Regions from separate parts of the Homo sapiens genome. Here regions 2, 3 and 4 are each linked to region 1. The links are contacts of gene promoters, found by promoter capture Hi-C in blood cells and fetal thymus (Javierre and others, 2016). All regions are on one chromosome and are shown on one strand. The core of a region is centred on a gene start or on the middle of the fragment in contact, and the rest is flanking DNA. Distances in the headings are between cores, read along the strand shown. Region 1 holds the start of BRD3 (bromodomain containing 3). Region 2 overlaps RXRA (retinoid X receptor alpha). Region 3 overlaps VAV2 (vav guanine nucleotide exchange factor 2). Region 4 overlaps VAV2 (vav guanine nucleotide exchange factor 2).

The links. The method cuts DNA at HindIII sites, captures the fragments that hold promoters and counts their contacts. A CHiCAGO score of 5 or more calls a contact.
Region 2: a fragment that was not itself captured here is called in contact with the fragment with the promoter of BRD3 in region 1 in 1 of 17 cell types (naive CD4 T cells); the score reaches 5.3 in naive CD4 T cells.
Region 3: a fragment that was not itself captured here is called in contact with the fragment with the promoter of BRD3 in region 1 in 1 of 17 cell types (total B cells); the score reaches 5.2 in total B cells.
Region 4: a contact is called between a fragment that was not itself captured here and the fragment with the promoter of BRD3 in region 1, in 1 of 17 cell types (M1 macrophages). The highest score is 5.3, in M1 macrophages.

What each region holds. Positions count from the first base shown.
Region 1 is chr9:134,065,850-134,070,966 of GRCh38, forward strand. It overlaps BRD3 (bromodomain containing 3), which reads right to left and starts at 2,177. Exons shown (of 12, transcript NM_007371.4): 1 at 2,096-2,177. RefSeq lists silencers at 1,623-1,872, 2,053-2,782. The HindIII fragment of the contact is 7,653 bases long and covers 981-5,117 here.
Region 2 is chr9:134,439,074-134,444,190 of GRCh38, forward strand. RXRA (retinoid X receptor alpha) reads left to right here. Exons shown (of 10, transcript NM_002957.6): 10 at 1-1,512. Among named protein-coding and RNA genes, the nearest start is that of MIR4669, 62 kb to the left of the region's middle. RefSeq lists an enhancer at 4,265-4,843. The HindIII fragment of the contact is 2,268 bases long and covers 1,132-3,399 here.
Region 3 is chr9:133,773,231-133,778,347 of GRCh38, forward strand. VAV2 (vav guanine nucleotide exchange factor 2) reads right to left here. Exons shown (of 30, transcript NM_001134398.2): 23 at 4,159-4,233; 24 at 2,798-2,850; 25 at 1,705-1,821. Among named protein-coding and RNA genes, the nearest start is that of SARDH, 37 kb to the left of the region's middle. RefSeq lists a silencer at 1,676-1,902. The HindIII fragment of the contact is 3,733 bases long and covers 403-4,135 here.
Region 4 is chr9:133,793,682-133,798,798 of GRCh38, forward strand. It overlaps VAV2 (vav guanine nucleotide exchange factor 2), which reads right to left. Exons shown (of 30, transcript NM_001134398.2): 10 at 4,029-4,128; 11 at 2,748-2,843; 12 at 1,987-2,055. Among named protein-coding and RNA genes, the nearest start is that of SARDH, 58 kb to the left of the region's middle. RefSeq lists an enhancer at 4,939-5,108 and a cis regulatory region at 5,024. The HindIII fragment of the contact is 6,769 bases long and covers 1-5,117 here.

The DNA.
Region 1 (5,117 bases), core at 927-3,426:
CCAGAGCCTGGAGGAAGAGGGTAGAGGAAGGTAGCACCGGCTGCAGCAGGCCTGGCTGCTTCGCTCTGCACACCCCCACTTTCACTTTCTGGGTATGACTACTTCGGAGTGTAGGGCAGGCACTGTTTGCAAGTCCCGTCCTTCATTCAAAGCTCACTCACTTCCGAAGCAGGCGCGAGCTGTTGTCAAAGGAAAGTAATTACTCTACTTTCTAAAAACAAAACAAAAATAAAAATGGAGTGACTGCCCACTCGGAGAAAGCTTTTGAAATCCCTCCTCCCCGGATGTCCCAACGGCAGGGCTCAGGCTGGAGCTGCTCCCACAGTCTTTCCAGGCACCCGGTGCCCTGCTGAGGCACCGGGCCTCTGAGGCTACCCGGAAGGTCAGAAAGAAATGCCCCTCGCTCGCCTGCAGCCCGTCCTGTTACAGCGTGTGCCTTATCTTTCATGATCAGTAACCACCAGCACCCATCAAGGCCTCAACAGAGAAAACGGCAAACACAGACCTTTATTTGCAAATGAGAGGCTGCATCAGGGCTGCCAGGGAAGAACCCGGAGGGAGGGCTCCCTAACCCCCGAGGCCAGCCCCTTGCAGGGGTTCAGACCTTCCTTAGACCCCGTTGGAAGCCAGTAACAAACTACTTTCCCCAGAAAAATGCCATACAACTTTGCATAGATTCCAGGATCTCCCCAGGCATACTACATGGACCCAGGAAAAAAAAAAAACCCTCCATTTTAAAGAAAAGAGTAAGGGGAAAAGCCTACAAAAGAGCAGGGTAAAAAGAAAACTCTTTTCCTCTTCTGTTCCTTCTCACAGGGTAGGGCGGGGGAGGACGGGACACACGAAGCTGCCTCTTGCAGTTCCAGCCCAATTACTCTGCCCACCAATGCACTACAGTCTCCCCTCCTGGTTAACTTTTGCAGACAATGACCAAGTTTAATGTAAGGGGGAGAAATCCCAGTATCTATTTCTGAGCAGAAAGCTTTCAACCAAAATTAAAGATCGCAACCACTCAAGGATTGGGTCGAACGGAGGAACCCACACGATGGACGCCGGGTCCCTGCCCCCGGTGGGTCTCGGCGGGCCGAGTTCTCGCCCTCCAGGGAAAGGAGGCCGCGCGAAGCCCCCATCCCGGCCCTGCCCCCGAACGAGCAACCGGTGGAATAAGACTTCCCGCACGCCCCAGCTTTATTCACAGAGAGCCCACCAGGGCCATGTGGGTGTACACGGTTCGGGGTGCGCATTTCTCCCCGGATGGGCTTGTATCACGTTGTCACTCCGGCGCCCCCCAAAAGTGGGAAGGAGGGGAAGCACCCCCGTCCCTCCCGCTCCAACTCGCCCTCGCCCGGATTAAGCGATTTTCAGGCTGATTTCAAAACGGGAACTGGGTCTCCCCCTGGTTTGGGTGCAATAATCCGGCAACTCAGGGGGGCTCAAAGTCAGCTCTGGGCCCGTAACTCTGGGAGGAGGCCGCGCAGAGCCCAGGGCCGAGCCCGGCCTTGCCCCCCGCCCCGGCCGCGGCGCGCGGCGACGGTCCCCAGGCGCGGGCCCCAGCAACGGCTCGGGAGCGAGGCCGGCGGAACAGGCGCGGGGAAAGTGGCCCCGCGGAGCGCACGGCCGCAGGCCGGGGCCGCCGCGCGCACCTTCCCCCTCCGCGTCCTCCCTGGGTTCCCCCTTCGAAAGATGGCGGGCGGAGGAAAGGGGGAAAAAAATCCCTTCCGTGAGGGAGGGCGCGCGGAGGCCGGGCTGGCGCGGGGCGCGCGGGCCGCGCCAACTCCGGGCTGCGCGCCCCGGCCGCAGCGACGCCCCGAGTCCGGGACGGAGGCGGCCAAGCGGGAGCGGGAGGAGGGGAGCGGAGCCCGCGCCACCGCCGCCGCCACCGCCGCCGCGACCCCGGGCGGCCGCCGCGCTTTGTTGCATCGTGGCCGCGCACAAAGGCGGCGGCGGCGGCGGCGGCCCCGGGCGCCCGGTTCACCCGGACGCGCCGGCGGACTGCGCGGGGCGCTCGGGGCCGCGCTCCCCGGCCCAGCCCGGCCCGCCGCCGCCCGCGCCGCCCGCCGCCCCGCGCGCGCAAGGAAGCAAGAGAAAGGCGTACTTGGCCTCGCGGCTCCGGCGGCCGTCCCCTCCCGGCCCGCGCGGCCGGCTCCTCTTTGGCTCGCCGGCCCCGGCAGCATAATAGACGCGCCGGAGCCGAGCAGGGCTCATGCGCTGCGCCGCGGCGCCTGGCGGGAGTCGTAGTCCGCGGCCGGGCCCGCGCCGGGGCCGCCCAGGGGAGGCCGCGGGCGCGCGGACTACATGTCCCGGCCCCGCCGGCGCCGCGCCCCGCCCCGGGGGCCCCCGCCCGCCCCGCCGACCCGGCCGAGAGCGGGCCTGGCCCGGGGGGCGCGCGGGGGCGGGGCTCGGCGCCCGCCCGGCAGGGCAACAACGCTGGGACCCCGTGGGCCGTTCCCCGCCCGGGCCCGCACGGCTCTCCTCACCCCGTGTCGGGGACAGCGCCTGGCGGCGGATTTTCCGGTGCCCCAGGACGGCATGGAAGAAGCGGGCACGCAGCCAGCACCGCAGCCCCCGTCCGGGCACCCCGAGGCCCGCGGGAGCCACCCTCGAACCCCGGCCGCGCACGGGCGGGGCGGCGCGCACCTGCCGGGAGCCCGTGTTTGTAAACAAACCGCGCGCCTAATTAGCCTGGCGGGAGCGCGCGCGCGGGGCGGGGGGCGGGGCGTCGGTGCGCGCGGGCAGGTCGGCCCCGCCCGGGGAGGAGCCGCGCTCTGCCGCGCCCTCCGTGTCACCATCTCCCCCACCCGACTTGCTGGGGCGCGGGCGCCCAAGTTCGCTGTTGCTGGAGAGGGCGCCAAGTCCCCAGAGCTGGCGAAGAGTTAGGGGTGCTCCCAGCTCTGCCTGGGGACCTTCTCGCCCCAAGCCCCGGTTTCCCCATCTGCCCAGTGAGGGGCGGGAACTAGATACCAGGTTCCCAGCCTGAGATTCCGGGAGAGGGCCACCCCTGGCCCTTTTTCTGTATCTTGAAAGGTTCAGCCCGTGGACACGTTTTGCATCTTGTTTTGGGTGATGACGACTCGGGTTTACACATAAATCAAGTTGTGGGGGGGGGGGTTTTGTTGTTTTTTTGGTTTTTGTTTTTTTTTTTTTTTTTTGAGACGTTAGTTTCGCTCTTGTCACCCAGGCTGGAGTGCTGTAGTGTAGTGAGTGGCTCGATCTCGGCTCACTGCAACGTCCGCCTCCCGGGTTCAAGCCATTCTCCTGGCTCAGCCTCCCGAGTAGCTGAGATTACAGGCACCCGCCACCACGCCCGGCTAATTTTTGTATTTTTTAGTAGAGATGGGGTTTCACCGTGTTGACTGGGCTGTTCTCAAACTCCTGACGTGAGATGATCCGCCCACCGCGGACTCCCAAAGTGCTGGGATTACAAGCGTGAGCCAACGCACCCGGCCACATAAATCAATTTTAATCCAGCTGTAACTTAAGGTGGTTACACGTTGTGTACATTAGACCCCAATAAAAACGTCAAAAACAAAACGAGGTTCCTTGGTGCCTGCTGAACCTGCCAACTGCAAGGTCGAGTTTCCTTGTGTGGGCTGCACCCACCCCAAGCCCCTGGGGTCCCCAGGTGTGTTCCAAGTTGAGCAGCAGCTCCACTGCCTGAAATGCACACATCTATGCAATATTCACAAAGTGAGTGCCAGCACAGAGACAATTCATCCCCATGCTCACCCAGAAGGCAGGTGTTCTGTTCCAGGCTGACAGGTAAGGAAACAGGCTCAGTGAGGCAAAGGGTCCTGCCCAAGGTCACAGAGCCAATTTGCAGGACGGCTGAGACCCAAAGCCCCGGGGTCTTAGGAAGAGTTTGCAGGGGAAGCCAACACCTTTCCCAATCCTGTCCCTCTGTTTCTGCTGGGAGCCCAGGACCTTCTCACACTCCAGGGCAAGGCTCTAGGACGAGGTTCCAGCCTTGCCTTTCTAGTTGGCAAAATGGACAAAGTGCAGTCCTCAGGCGCAGGAAGGTCGGGGAGGGGGAATATGAGAGGTGAGGATCTGCAGGCAGTTCCCTTAGAACTACCATCCTGGTTGTGTCCCCAAACCCCCGGTGCAGTTCCTCAACCTACAGGCTTCTGTGTTAGCCACCTTGGAGGCTGCAACCCATTCCTGCTGTCTGCATCTCATCTCCTTGGGTATCTTGAGCACTCTGACCACCAGGATGGCCACCTCACCACTTACACAGACCCCACTGCACTCCTCCCAAGGCTAGAACAAAAAGCCTTTCCGCCTGGTCTTGACCTCAAGGAACCCAGGTACATGCACACAGCAGGCTGCCCTGACCAGCCAGCGTGTCTGAGGCTGCTGACCAAATGCCCCCAACCCTTATGGGCCTCCCACTGCCCTAAGGTGACCCCCAGGAGTATGGCAGGAACCCAGGCGCTCCCTGGGCACTGGCTCTGATGGAAGCACCAAGGTCCCCTTCTTTCCCTTCCCGCTGCTCACCCACACATGAGTGGCCCGGATGGCTCCATGGAGCCAACTTTCCCGAGGCTGGAGAAGTCTCTAGGAAGCAGAATCTGTAAGGGAACAGGACAGAAACTCTCATTTGAGCATCTCAGCCCCTGTGCTACTATCTCTGAAGACTAGTTTAGGGGCCACAGTGGCAAACAGCTGAAAGCCAGCAGGGCTGCCATTGAGAAGGGATTTGGGGTGGCTCTGCAGTCCCCTCCAGCCCCTAGCAGCCCATCATCCTCTCCCTTCCTGCTCAGGCTCTTGGAATTTTAACCTCTGGTACTGCTGAATTTCCCAAGTGAAGCCACTTAATCTCCCCGACCCAGGTTTCCTCCCCTGTCACAGGAGGATAAAAATAGAACCTGATCCCGCAGCTCTGGTAAGGGAGGGGGGCATGTGCAAAGGTTGGGGCTGTGATCAGGAGCAGGCTGCTGCCTTTGCCTCCTTGGCCATCACTCACCTCTCTACCTTCACGTTTTACTTCCTGAGCCTCCTTGTGGGCTGTCTCACGGCTCCATGAGAGCAGAGCACTTTGTCCATGAGGTATCCCTAAACATCCTTCAACAGTATCTGGCACCTAGTGGGTGCTCAATACATAGTTGTTGAATGAATAA
Region 2 (5,117 bases), core at 1,016-3,515, 370 kb after region 1:
ATTTCTATTTAACCAGACCTGTAGTAGTATTACCAATCCAGTTCAATTAAGGTGATTTTTTGTAATTATTATTATTTTGGTGGGACAATCTTTAATTTTCTAAAGATAGCACTAACATCAGCTCATTAGCCACCTGTGCCTGTCCCCGCCTTGGCCCGGCTGGATGAAGCGGCTTCCCCGCAGGGCCCCCACTTCCCAGTGGCTGCTTCCTGGGGACCCAGGGCACCCCGGCACCTTCAGGCACGCTCCTCAGCTGGTCACCTCCCGGCTTTGCCGTTCAGATGGGGCTCCTGAGGCTCAGGAGTGAAGATGCCACAGAGCCGGGCTCCCCTAGGCTGCGTCGGGCATGCTTGGAAGCTGGCCTGCCAGGACCTTCCACCCTGGGGCCTGTGTCAGCCGCCGGCCCTCCGCACCCTGGAAGCACACGGCCTCTGGGAAGGACAGCCCTGACCTTCGGTTTTCCGAGCACGGTGTTTCCCAAGAATTCTGGGCTGGCGGCCTGGTGGCAGTGCTGGAGATGACCCCGAGCCCCTCCCCGTGGGGCACCCAGGAGGGCCCTGCCGGAATGTGCAGCCTGTGGGTAGTCGGCTGGTGTCCCTGTCGTGGAGCTGGGGTGCGTGATCTGGTGCTCGTCCACGCAGGTGTGTGGTGTAAACATGTATGTGCTGTACAGAGAGACGCGTGTGGAGAGAGCCGCACACCAGCGCCACCCAGGAAAGGCGGAGCGGTTACCAGTGTTTTGTGTTTATTTTTAATCAAGACGTTTCCCCTGTTTTCCTATAAATTTGCTTCGTGTAAGCAAGTACATAAGGACCCTCCTTTGGTGAAATCCGGGTTCGAATGAATATCTCAAGGCAGGAGATGCATCTATTTTAAGATGCTTTGGAGCAGACAGCTTTAGCCGTTCCCAATCCTTAGCAATGCCTTAGCTGGGACGCATAGCTAATACTTTAGAGAGGATGACAGATCCATAAAGAGAGTAAAGATAAGAGAAAATGTCTAAAGCATCTGGAAAGGTAAAAAAAAAAAATCTATTTTTGTACAAATGTAATTTTATCCCTCATGTATACTTGGATATGGCGGGGGGAGGGCTGGGACTGTTTCGTTTCTGCTTCTAGAGATTGAGGTGAAAGCTTCGTCCGAGAAACGCCAGGACAGACGATGGCAGAGGAGAGGGCTCCTGTGACGGCGGCGAGGCTTGGGAGGAAACCGCCGCAATGGGGGTGTCTTCCCTCGGGGCAGGAGGGTGGGCCTGAGGCTTTCAAGGGTTTTCTTCCCTTTCGAGTAATTTTTAAAGCCTTGCTCTGTTGTGTCCTGTTGCCGGCTCTGGCCTTCCTGTGACTGACTGTGAAGTGGCTTCTCCGTACGATTGTCTCTGAAACATCGTGGCCTCAGGTGCCAGGGTTTGATGGACAGTAGCATTAGAATTGTGGAAAAGGAACACGCAAAGGGAGAAGTGTGAGAGGAGAAACAAAATATGAGCGTTTAAAATACATCGCCATTCAGTTCGTTTGTTCCGTGTGGGGACTTTTTTGTTTGGAGCGGGAGGGCCCGCGATCAGCCCCCACCAGCCCACCCTCCTGTCCACCCTACCTGCCGGTCCTGTGCGGCGAGGCTGGCATCCTCTGTGGGCCATACTCTTGAGAGTTCTCTCCCTGTCCACTGGGCTCTGCTGCTCCTCCAAGGGGCAGGGGGCTGGGGCCTCCGTGAGGGCACCTCTCAGCAGCCGTGGGCACTGGGCCTGTGGGCGCCTGCGGAGCACGAGTGTTCCCACCTGTCCCTCCCCAGGCTGCCTAAGCATCCACGCCTCTGCAGCCACGCTGGCCCAGATGGGCAGGAGGTGCACCCAGAGGGCCAAGGAACACACGATGTCACCCAGCTGCCCCAATAACAACAAGTTAATGATGCCCCATCTGCATTGTCTCCTGTGATAAACGCCCTCTGTCTCCATGCTGTCTGGGGCTGGGCTGCTCCCGGCCTGGTTTGGTCTTCGTGCCCGGAGCCCTCTCATGCACCTGTGTCCAGCCAGGCACCCTCCCCGAGAGGCACCAGACACACTGAAGATGGGGAGTGGGGCTCTGAAGGTCCAGGTCCTGCCCTGTGGTGGTGGGCAGAGGACAGTGTGGCCTGTGCCCAGAGCTAGGGTGGCTCCCGGGTGAGACTTAAAATGGAACGGCCTGCCACCTGAAAGGCAGGGACTTCCTGATGGCACTCCCCTCATGAGCACACACACATTCACACACGTGCATACTCAAACACGGGCACGGACACGCTCACATGGACCCTCGCACCCATTCATACGCATGCACACACCACGTGCTCACACAGATGCTTTGGCATGCACACCCATGCAGAACTGCTCCCGTGCACACACCCATCGCTGCCCTTGCACACACCCATGCATGCTCCCATGCACACACACCCATACAGGCTCAGTTGCACACACCCATACACGCTCCCGTGCACACACCCATACACGCTTTCATATGCACATACATCCATATTCCCATGCACACACACCCATACACACTCCCATGCACACACACCCATACATGCTCCCGTGCACACACACACTCATGAACATACACACTTGCACTCAGCCCTGGAAGGATCGACAGAACAGTGGGGGTCTTGGGTGCGGGGCTGAGCCAGCCTCCCTTGGTGGAGTCAGGACCCCACACCAACATTCTCCCTCTTCCTGGGAACGGCGGCTGTGCGGCTGTGCTCTGAAACTCTGGGCCACTCCCTGGGCCCCCAACCATGGCTGAATGGTGGGTGCCACAGGAGTCTCGACTCACTTTGCCATCTTAGGAGCCCCCCTGGGTCCCAGCTGCACATCCAAAGGATCCTCCCTGGGCTTCACACCCTCCCCTGCCAGGGCCTCGGCTCTGCCCACTGAGACCAACCTGGGCTTCTCCAGAGGGGTCCAAGTGTGAATGGACCCCGAGGGAGGGCGGAGTCCTTGAAGTGGCCACCCGCTTCCTCTGTGTCGGCACAGCCCTCTGCCGACCTGGCTTGCTGAGTCTGGCCCACCCATGTTCTCTGCATATAATCTTGCACACATGAAGCACGTGGGCCCCTTCCGTGGTCTGGAAAAGGGGTCGGCCCTGGGGCTTCGGGAGCTGGGATGTGGCCTCCCTGCTGAGAGGCCTCCCATCCTGCTGCACATCTGCGCACATGGCTGAGTGCTGCTGTGTGAGACACCAGCGGTTGGAAGCTGGCTCTGTGCCCTGGTGGCCCCCTGGACTCTGGGCACAGCCTCCACGGACACCCGTCCTTGGGGTGAGAGTGAGCCCTCGGAGTTCTCAGGCCAGAGCGCAGGGACAAAAGGGGAAAGCTGAGGTCTGTGGTTGCAGGACACGGACCCCTCGGGGCTCTGGGAGAAGCCCAGGAAGGGGAAGCTTCCCGTAAGTTCCCAGGGCCTTGGTGCTTGTTTTAATAATGGGGCAGGGTGTTACTATGGGACTTCCTGGGGTGAGCGTGGGGGGAGTTTGGTGCCCCTCCAGGGACACGAACACCACCCCGTGCTCCCACCAGCCAGGCAGAAACTCCAGGCTGCTGGCTGGCGCGGCATCGCAGGACAACCCAGCTTTGGGCCTCCCTTCGGCATTTGGTTGCCACGGTGACTCCTGCCCAGGGCAGTCCCTCTGGACCAGAGATGCTGGGCTTGATAAGTTCTTCACCGTCACTCTCAGGCAACGACAGCAAGCCAGTGTGGGCTGGAGGTTTGTGAACTGAGAGGCAAGGGAGGGGGCAGGGGCTCAGGCACCTGCGGTGGGGGCAGGGACACATGGCTCCTGGATGGGCACCGCTGAGCTCCCTGTGCTTCCGTCCCTGCCATCAGCCAGCAGACAGCATGATGGGAGGAAGGGCGCACGTGGGGAATGGGGCGCATCCTGAGAGCACATCCTGAGAGAACGGGGCAGCCCCTGCACTTTGTGCAGGCAGTGCACACTCAGGGCGGAGGAGGGGTCATCGCTGTGCCCAAGGACAGCTGCACCTGGGTGACCAGAGGAGGCCAGGGAAGTCTCAGGGGCCTCAGGAGGAAGGGGCTGGGGCGTGGAGACATCGGGAAGGGCCACATAGAGCCTTCAGCCCAGTCCCCTGGATTCTCAGATGGGCACAGCCGCCCCCTGGCAGGGACTCAGACAGCATCGGGGCGGGCAGGCCATTGAGTCTGGCATTTTCTACCTGCCTTTCTGCAGCGAGCCCCCTCTGTAAAGATGCCCGGAGGGAGCCCGCAGCCCCTGCAGAGCTGTGTCCCCACACTTCGCAGAGGCCCTGCGAGGAAGGAGTTTGCCCAAAGGGAGGCCAAGGCAGGACCAGGTCCCATCCCACCACCTCGGTTATGGAGCTGATTAGGAACCCGAGTGTCCCCAAGGACAGATGCCCCGGCGCCTGCTGCGGCGTGAAGCAGCCCTGCCCCCTGCTGGCGACGCTGGGACAGCGCGGGTCCTCCAGTCCCTTCTTGCTCCTCCAGGCCTGTGGGTGCCACAGTGGCTTCCGGCAGTGGGGTTGATTACTGTGAGTCAGAATCACCTGGGCGCTCCGCCACCCAGCCATACCCCTGCTCACTGCAGCAAGCGGTCCAGTCAGGAGCCGGCTTCATCCCAGTTTCACCAAGATGCCTCAGCAGTCAGCTGTTCGGGAAGCTGGGCACACAGCCCTACTGGGTGCCAGGTGGGCTTGGCCTGCAGCAGGAGCAGGGTCAGGGAAGGTGAGGACAGAGCGCCAAGGAGGGAGGGGGGCGGGTCCTGCCCTCTCTGAGCCTCAGTTTCCCCATCTCCCCACCTCCAAAGTGAGGACAAACTCCCCACTTTCCAGGGCTGTTGTGACCAGGGCCTTGGTCACCCAGAAAATGCTTTAGGAGGAAGCAGCCACTTCCTCCTTTCTTTTGGTGTGAAGAGGCTCTAATGCAGGGCATGGGTGGAGGAGGCCAGGCCGACTTTGCTCCCTGAGCAAAGGGTGGTGAGCAGGAATCCTTGGAGATTTGACCCGGGGTCCACCTCTGGACAAGCACAGGACTGTAGGCCCAGGTTCCAGGGCCTGGGATCCAGGAGGTGGCATCATGGCTTTTGCCCATTATGGGGGATGGGGAAGGTCAGGTACCATGGTGC
Region 3 (5,117 bases), core at 1,019-3,518, 290 kb before region 1:
TACAGACCTACTGAATACTGTAGGCAGTTGTAACATGAGGTCAGCCTAGAAAAGGTATGGTAAAAACACAGTAGAAAAGATAAAAAACAGGACAGCTGTATGGGGTGCTTATCATGACTGGAGCTTGCAGGACTGGAAGTTGCTCTGGGTGAGCTGGAGAGTGGTGAGTAAATGTGAAGGCCTAGGACATTGCTGTGCACCACTGTAGACTTTATCAACGCTGGACACTGAGGCTACACTACATTTATTTTTAAAACATTCTTTCTTCAATCGTAAATTAACTTTATAAACTTCTTAATTTTTGTTAACTTTTTGAAGCTTGGGTAATAATACTTAGCTTAAAACACAAACATATTACACAGCTGTACAAAGATATTTTATTCTTTGTATCCTTATTCTATAAGCTTTCCTGTTTTTTTTCTTTGTTGTTGTTGTTTTTACTCCTAAGACAACAATGCCTTCTTCTAGAATGTCTCCTGAAGGACGTGCCTGAGGCTGTTTTACAATTAAGTATTTTTTTGCTGAGTAGAAGGAGTATGCTCTAAAATAAAAAGCACTGTATAGTGAATCCATAAACCAGTAACACATTCATGTATTACGATGATCACATACTATGTATGTGCAGAATTGTTTGTCCTATGCTTCTATATGACTGGCAGCACTGTAGGTTTGTTTACACCAGCATAACCACACTCACATGAGTAATGGGCTGCGCTATGATGTCACCAGGCCATGGGAACATTTCAGCTCCATTATAATCTTACGGGACCACCACCACATATGGGGTCCCTCACAGACTGGAATGTCATTATGTGGCCGATGACTGTATTTATCTACATAAACCAGACACATAGCAAGGACTCCACACCACAACCCAGTGGGACATTCCAGGAATGCAAGGTTGGTTTAACATCTGGAAATCAGCTAATGTAATAAACAGTCATTAAACAAATGGTGGCCTGGCTGCCTGGTCCTCTGTGAGGCCTTCATACAGCACCCATCTTGTTTCTCCCTGGATTTAATGTGCACCATGAGTGTGTGCGCCCTACCCCCAGCTCCTGGTCGGCAAGGCCCATCTTAGCCTCCTGCAGGCCAGGCACACAGAAGGCTTTCTGAGAATTTCTTTCAGGTGGGCAATGTCCCACCAGCTCAGTGCTTGGTGGGCTCCAGCCCATCAGGGTCGGTCTCCTGGAGAGTTAACTGCAGCCCCACAAGGAGGCGGCTCCCAGGGAGAGGGCATAGGGCAGGAGGATGCCCAGACTGTGCCAAAGCCGCAAGGCAGCAGTAGTCACAGGAGACACCCTCCTAGGCCCCTGGCTGCCTCAGAGCAGCACGACAGGTCCACTCTCTCAACCTGTGGGGCTGCTGGGAAATCCCTGAGCTCACACAGGATCTCACCCACCCACTTGTACCTGAGCTTATCTGGTTCCCATGACCCAGAAATGTCCAACCCAGCCCACAGGGCAGCCAGGAGTGATGTAAGCATGGACCATCTGTGCATGCCAGGGGTTCAGGCCCTGCCCAGCACACCTGTAGAGACCCCCTGACCCCTCAGCACCGCTTTCATCTCAATAATGTCCTCACTTGGCAACAGATGACATGTCCACCCCAACCCCACGAGCTCAGGACGTGGAGAGGATGGTGCTCTCCACTTCAGAACGGCATTGGGGGATGGGTCTCCTCGAGCCCAGAGCCGCCACTTACTTGATGCTTATTGCAAAGCGCTCAGCCTCGGCAGGCCGCTCCCTGATCAGGTAGGTCCCGCTGGCGTGGGACTTGAGCAGGTTGTCCGTCTGCTGCCTCTCCATGTTACCTGCAAACCTACAGGAGGGGGCCGGGAGGAAACGAGAGCCGCAGTGAGGACAGTGTCTGAGGGGTGCCCAGCCCTCCGTGCGTGGCAGGCCACATGAAGTACTCTGCAGTCCTCATCTGAGAGCTCATCTCCTAATGAACCCAAGAGAACAGGCTGGGTCCCTATGAGCGGGGCACCACTGTGGATGGGGTCTGGCATCTGACCCTTCCTACAGTGGGATACAGTGAGGCTCAGGACAGATCTTGAGAGGGGTTAAATAGAGGGGTGACTGTGGCCACCAGCCAGTCCCACATGCTGTCTTCTGCTCTACAGACCCCAAGGGCCTGCCAGAGGAGTTCAGCGTATTCAGTAGATCCAATTTCTTTCCTAAAATATATTTTCACTATTTCAAAAGCAGTAAAGGCATAACTGCTTATGTGGATTTTTTTGGTAACACATTGGAGATTGCCAACATCCATGTCAGTTGAATTTTGAACAGATTTTGAAACGAAGCTCTTCCTGCCACCTGTACTGCAATGAAGCCCACCCTGAGAGGGCAAGGCAAGCTCTCTCCCAAAATCTGCTGCCACACTGTCAGGACAGTTGGGACTTCTGTGATTTCAAACAGCCTCACTGTTCCCACCAAGCAACTGTATTGTCAGTAAGTGGATTACACCTGTGACCTCAAATATACCACTTTTATATAGTGCAGATAAAATTCAAAAAGGGTTTAATTCCCTGAAATATCTGAGCCAGTTGAGCTGTTTTAGAGAGGGTTAACAGCTGCCTACAGGAGAAGGACTCCCCCAGGCTCCTGGAGAGTTATAGGCCAGGAGGGAGAAGGCATTTGGGAGCCACTGGGCTCAGTGCCCTGGAGATGGCAACAGGCAGCCTGGGGCCTCCACCCTGCTGGGCCGCTCACAGGCACCACCCAGACCCGGCGGGCATGCCCCCATAACAAAGAGGCCACCAGATGCCCATGTCTGCAGCCCACGATCCACTCACCAGGGGTATGCAGTGTAGTCGATCTCCCGGGATGGCGGCCGGCTGATGGGCGGCTGGTGGCAGAGCACAAGAGTGTTAACGGCCCCCCAGGGCCACTCACAGAGCAGGGCTCAGAGGGGGTCATTGTCAGTGACTGCCCTGTCCCCACATTGGCTGCCCTGGAGGGGACTGTCTGTGGACTTAGCCCCAGCGCCCCTGGCCTGGGAGGTGCCCAAGGGTCGTGGCCAGGACAACCTCATCTCTGAGTAGATGCCCCGTGGGTCTGATGGAACAGATGTCGGCATAGCCACCAGCTAACACTGACTTGATCCCCTGGGACAGCAAGGACCGAAGGTGCGGGAAGTTTTCAGCCAGTGGATGTGAGACACCCACAGCCAAGCTCCCTGCTCCAGAGGTCTGGAAACCCCGGGGTGGGGGTCTGGTGGTGGCCACACTCAGGCAGGTGCTGCCGCTCCAGTGAGCAGGTAGGGCTCCCTCCCTGGCTACAGCCCCCCACCCTGGCCTCACTGGGCCACAGGCTGGGCACAGCCTCAGAGACTACCTCTTCCCTCGCACCCTATTCACCATGCAGATGGGGAAACTGAGGCCTGGGGAAGGGAAGGAACCTGCCCCAGGCCACCTAGTGAGTTTGTGACCCTTGTCCTCCCCTGCCGCCTGGTCCCCTTGGTCACGCAAAGTGCCCTAAGTGCTGAGCACCTGCCCTTTCAGCAGAGGTAGCACACAGGCGGACGGGACTGGGGCTGGGGTCGGGGAGCACCGGGGCTGCCGCAGTGGGGTTGGGAACCCACCCCTGCACCTTCAGAGGTTCCACGCTCTCACTCTGAGCTGTCCTTTCGGGGTGGAGGTGGGGTAACTCATTTACTCAAGGCTGCCTGCTGCCTTTCATCACAGAGCCGAGAATTCGCTCCATATCCCTCAGATGAAAGAAATACCATATTGCCTCTGTTTTAAATAGCATAAAGTCTAGCTTTGAATCCTTATGTTTGAGGGGAGCCTTTTTTTCTCTCTAAGGCTGCGCAATAGTCCAAGAGATCTTATAGAGTCCCCGAAATCTGGTGAAAGGCAGCTGGCTGGTCTTCACCCCATTACAGCTGCTGCAGAAATGCCTGTTTTGGTGTTTCTAAAACCACAACGAAACGACACCCGATCGGCTGAGCCCTTTAAACAGAGGAGAGCGTGCTGCCCCACAGCCCCCCACCCATCTTCTCTCTGGGCTCCAGCTCCAGGAAGCAGCTCACAGCAGCCTAAATTTAGCAAGGATGTCCTGAACAAGCCAAAAATGTCCACGTGAGGAGGCAGCTCCCAGAACCCTCAGCACCCAGGCCACCGTGCTCCAGAAGCTTCTGTGGGAAAGGACTCACCCTTCCATCCACAGGGCAGGGCTTCACAGATGAGCTGGGGAAATACCCTGACTTCCTGGTTTGTACCAGACGACCCTGGCAGAGGAAAGAGATGGTTAGGACAAGGGGGCCGAGCCTGGCCTATGGGAGTGTGGGGCCATTTAGACGGACTCAGCGTATGCCAATCCCGCTCCTGGAGGGTGGGAGAGCCAATGTCTTCTTTCCCAACCTCAGCTGACCCGGCAGCCAGTTAGGGCAGGGAGGTGCAGGGCCTCCCACCCTAGACATGAGAGCACTAAGGCCTGGCACAGCACCAAAGCACCTCCACAAGGCCCCCCCAAGAAGCTGGCAGCCCTGGTCATACCCGGGGAGGGACAGAGCAGGACTGATACTCTGCACAGCTCAGATGGCCTTTTGCACCCTCTGAACCTCCTGTTACATGAATGTAGGGTCTGGTACAAGAAATCCATCACCGAGTATGGACTGATAATGACCATGACAAAATGACCACAGCATCATTGTAACCTGAACATTAACAAACATTCGGCTCTAATGTCAGCTCCCGCGGGAAGCTACCTTGCTGGGCTAAGTGCCCTCGAGGCCCCGTGGCGCTCTGCTGACCTGTGGGTCTTGGGGCTCCCTTGAGCACTGGGGCTTGGTAGAGGGGCCGAGGACTGGGGGTCTGAGTCCTTGGCTCAGACGCCCGGGTGCCAGCATGCTCAACGACATGGGGTCTCAGCGTGTCAAGAGAAGGGCAAATGTGCCCAGAACCCTTTACAGCCCAGCCATCTGCTGAAGGTGGGGATGAACGCCCACAAAGGTCCCCGGGATGAACGCCCACAAAGGTCCCCACTCTGTGGGCCTTGGAAACAGAGCAGCACATTCCTGGCTCAGAACCATAAACGACATCACGATGACAACATCTGTGCCCACCTGGGGAAGGAGCGAACCTGCCCGCTCACCCCACGATCATGCGAAGG
Region 4 (5,117 bases), core at 1,480-3,979, 270 kb before region 1:
GGGAAATGTCTGTACTTTGATACAGAGGCAGGACTGCAGTCAGCTCATGGAGCTTGGACCTAAAACCGCAATTCCCTTGGAGACAAACCTCAGGCCCACAGCGGCACGGGGGCTGATTCTCAAAGACGCTGCCGTACAAGGAGTGAGCCCTCAGTCCCTAGGGGAAATCAAGCCCAGGTACAGCGACGACTCCCATAGTGGCTGCATGAATGACTTCCTATATAAATTGGGAATGGATCAAAAGACTTCTAAAATCCCCCCAGCCCTGAAGTTTCATGATGAGGTTCGGTGGCTCTCAGAAAGGCAGACGCACACCCGCAAGTCACCGAGTACTTTGTGCAGCACCGTGAGCTACACTCCTGGGAAACCATCCCGTCGAGGGGCTCAGAGCCACTCGCCAGCCAGACACCGAGTGCTGAGAGTATGAAACGCAAGACCACACTCAGGGCCCGGGTGCACGGCCCACTGCACCTGCTGTCACTGTCTCAGAGCCCCCGAGGACGCATCCACGCTGGCTCACACACCGTGGCTCACAGCAGACAGGCCAGAGCAGGTGTTGGAGAGGGGCGGCTTGGGGGCTGCAGAGCTGACACCGAGAAAGTTCTGTCAGCCCGTCATGGCAGGAGGCTTTCCTGGAGCATTCCTCAGGGTGCTCGCTGCCCAGTGCAGCCGAGCGGGAATCTGAAGGTCTCTGGGACCACCTCCCGTGCCCACACACGAGTGCCCACAGGATTTGGAGTAAATTTCTCCCCGAGCACAAGCCCTGCTCAGAGAACCTCTTAGCACCGGCGGCCAAGCACTGGCCCCACTCCCGTCCCAGCCCAACAGCAGCTATAGACAGAGACAGATTACAGCCCCTCCCCCACCCAGAGGGAGCTCCTTAAATGAGGTACCTGGGAAAGGAAAAGGGGGCCCAAAGCCCAGGGGGGCTGCCCAGAGGGCAGGGGCCAGGTGTCAGAGGGCAGGACTGCAGCCCTGAGGGGGGCTGGCAGAGGTGTCCTGTGCTCCCGACGAGGGAGATGTGGGGGGGGTCGTCATCCCTCCACCCAGATGCAGCTGGAGGGGACCTACCACATGCCAGGTGCTGTGCCTGGCCTGGGGACACAGGTGACTATGGCTGACACATGCCTGGCTGGGAAGGAGATGGCACGAACAAGTGTGTCCAGGAGGAAGAGTGCCACCCACGAGGAAGCCAGTTCCCTGAGGACAGAACCCAGTGGGGGGCGATCCTCCCTGGAAAACGTTCTGTCCACAGTGAAGGCAGGATGAGCAGGACGTGGCCAGGTGACGAGGAGGAGGGTGCACCTGAGCCAACACCCGGAGCCGGGGAAGTGCAGGGCACGTGCAGGAGCCTGGGAGGGATCAAACCTGCCTGGAACTGTGCTGAACACAGCTGCGACATCAGGGGCAAGTATCCTGCAGAAGGCCGGGAGTGCCAGAGTGAGGAGCCCATGCCTGCTTCATGGGCAGAGGGAGCCACGGAAGGTTTCTGAGCAAGGGAGTGGCATGAGCTGAGCTCACCCGGACAAGGGGAGAGAGGGAGGCATGGCTGGCTGGGGGCCCTCGAAACAGCCAGGAGCGAAGGAGCTCCCCAGGCAGGTAGCTGAGAGATGGCACCGGAGGTGGCATTTTAGAAGCAGAAGCCTCAGTGCTGGGAGTGAGAAGCACTGGGCCAGAAAGCCCAGAATGGAGGCCAATGCCTGGGGGAAAAGCAGGGGGAGGGGAGGCTCAAGGGAGGTCTTGTTGGACAGGTGAGGTTAGGACTCGGGACACCTGAGGGGGCACCTGACCTGCAGTGCCCTCCACCCGTCACCTCTACCTCCTGTGGGTCTCACCCACTGCCCTGCCCTGCCCTGCCCCAACTCCTGCTGTCCCAGGAAACTGTCCACAGTCAAAACTGAGGCTCGTTAATGAGCCCAATTCCAGTCCAAGAACACGGGCTAAGCCAGACGGTGGCTTCTCCCCTGCCTCAGTTTACCCACACACCTGCATGGCTTCCAGTGCTTCTTTGAGCTGCTGCCTCTCAGGCCGTTCCGCAGAATGGCTCAGAAGCTCCTGGAAGGGTGAGAAGAGTGTCATGTGTTACCACTCGGGGGTTCTGGCCTCTGCCCTGGCCCCTACCTGGGGCAGGAGGTGTGCACAGAACCAAGTCCTCAGAAGAAAGCCACCCCCACCCGCCAGCCAGGCTGGGTTTGGCTGCCCGACACCAAAGGACAGAGAGTGACTCCTCCACAGGGGATACCCCACTTCTTGGCAGGGGCGCTCCCAAACCTTGTGGATAAGGGAAGGGAGTGACCGTGAGAAGGGCCATGAAGGCAGCAAAAAGCAAGGCGCTGTGCCAGCATTCCACGGGAAAAGGGCCTCGCAAGGTGCCGGGCAGAAACCACCGCCTTCCCTCCCAGGTCTGGCTTTCCTGAAGCCCTTCCATGTCCATTTCTGCCATGGCCACCAGGAAGCTCAGAGACCAACCACAGTAGCTTTCTTATTCCTGGTGTGAGGACGCTTTTCTGTCTCTTTCAGTTTTCTGACCTCTTTAGTGATTGGACTCATCATTTTCCTCTGTGTATTTACTGTGATAATCGGCCATCACATGCATTGAGCGGTGATTATGAGCTAAGCATGAACTGACTTGTCTATATTCAACTTAATCTGTCTGTGGGCTGCAACCTATACCCCCTGGAAGCTGCCAGCCCTCATCTGACTCCAGCAGTGATGACCCCGCAGGCACCCGGGGCCCAGAGCCTCACCTTCAAGAGCAGGTGGTATTTGAGCACCCTCTGCATGGGGACCACCAGCAGGTCTTGCAGCTTAAATTTTCCATCCTGGACCTTCAGTGTGCACTCCTGGGAGGGCGACAGGGCGATGGGAGAGCCCTCCCCGAGGAAAGCCTGAACCCACCCACCTGTACCCCCGCCCACAGAGAGGGGAGACCTAAGCCCAGAACTCAGGCCCAGACGTTTGGCCCTTCTCTAGCCAGGCTCCCGGAACCAGTCCATGCACCAGGTGTGTGCAGAGGGGGGGGCTTCACAACACATGGCTCCCACCCTGCCGTGTCTGCACTGGCCACACTGGGACGCAGTGAGACACGTGCGATGCTACGGAAACCCTCTCGGGGCGCCTGCTGGGCCTGTCTGGATGTGGCCTTGACTCTTCCGCCAGGCCAGGTCCTTTGGAGAAGGTCCTTTGGAGAAGGGGCAGCAGGCCATCCCCCATTCACCAACCCCTCTCTGGTCTGGCCTCTGGGAGAAGCAAGGTGGGGCACCAACTTGCACTGAGCTGTGGGGCCACTCCCAGGAACCAGGGCATTCCCCCATTCATTGACTGGACTTGGGGGGCATCGTGCATCTCTACTGGGGGGCCACGCTGCCTCCACCACTGCTAGAGCCAGGGGGCTCTTCACCAGGCTCCACGCAGAAACCAGGGTGTACTAACCAGATGGAGCCTGGAAACTCCAGCTGGGAACAGGAGGGGCTGGGAGGGGCTCACGTGAGAAACACTAGATGTTGACAGAGACTTGCCCTGGGCCTGGGGTGAGGATGGATGAGGGGTGGGTGGCCCCACAGTTCCCAGCAAATGTTACCCGGGACTCCCTGGGGTCAGCGGAGGCCAGGATCAGGGGTCAGTCAGAGCCCCCAGTTGATAGAGACTCGCCCTGGGCCTGGGGTGAGGATGGATGAGGGGTGGGTGGTCCCACAGTTCCCAGCAAATGGCACCTGGGGCTCCCTGGAGTCAGCAGAGGCCAGGATCAGGGGTCAGCCAGAGCCCCCAGCTGAGTCAGATTCAGTCCCAAGGACGTTTCTCCATGGGGAGTCTCACTGTGTCCTGGCCTGGGATGGTGACCTCCACCCAACCCACTCCCCAACCCAACACAATGCAAAAAAGAAAAATCTACAAAAAACCATTACGTCATCACCCCCATCACCACCTTCCCAACAAATGGGCAAGAGAGAGGCTGGTACCTAACGAGCTCTGGCCTGCAAGCTGCAACCTTGGAGCCAGGGCCAGGGCCAACGCCTGGCAGGACTTACCTCGACTTTCTGCCTGAAGTCCTCCCGGCTGGCCAGGAGCTGGTTCAGTGTGTTCTGGGCGTGCTCCATGTGGCTGCAGTACTCCCCGTAGATCAGAAGCCTGGACGGTGCACACACACGCACACACGCACACAGATTTAATGAGCAGCTCGGGGCTGCAGTGAGCCCGTCCATTTTTCCCAGCAGGCTGTAGGTGCGCAACCAACAGGCCCCTCCCCTGACAGCTCCCTGCACGTGGACACATTCAACGGCCAGGAGGCTGCTCTCCCCTTCCCGAAGCTACCGGGCCGCAGGAGGGCTGCCGGCGTGCTGGGAGAGGGGGTGCCCCTGCTCTTCCTGAGTCCCAGGTGGTTCTAGGTCAGGTCCCGGCTGGGATGCAGGCTGGAGCTCTCAACCTCCCATCCCACCCCCAAAAAGGGCCAACACTGGAGGAAAGAGAAGCCCCTGACATCCCCCCAGGAAAGAAGACCCCAGGAGGGCTCAGAATCTTGCCCCCAGGCCCTGAGCACCGAGGCCTGCACTGGCTCAGGGCTCACCCTCATGCTGTGCCAGGTGGGGAACCCCTAAGGGTCACCCTTGTTGCTTCCACATGGTGTCTGGATTCCACAAGCAGGGGACAACAGCAGTGACAGCCCCGTCTTCAGGGATGCAGGCAGCCAGGTGGCCCCCGGACCTGGGAGGACGCCCAGGAAGCCAGCCCTCGTGTCCTGCCCACCGCCTCCTCCTGGCCCCAGCATCGCTCTCTCCCGGCCACTCTGATTCCCCCTTCAGTGCCTTGTGCTGGTCTCTTTAGCCACGACACCTTCTCCCTCTCCCTGCACTGGGCCCACATCTCTACAAACTGGAACCCAGGGTTCCCGGCCTCTGGAGCCTCAGGGTCTTAGGTTACCAGCCTGAAACTTCATCTTTAAAACCCCATAACCCCACCGACAGGGCAGTCCCAAAGAAGAACCACACCAGGTGACAATGTTGGTGACAACAAGGATGACAAGAGCCACCACTCGCTGAGGCAGCTGCTGCCAGGTGCTCTGCCGACAAGCCTTATGACTTTTTTGCCCATTTGTAAAGATGGGGGTGATTAGCCCCACT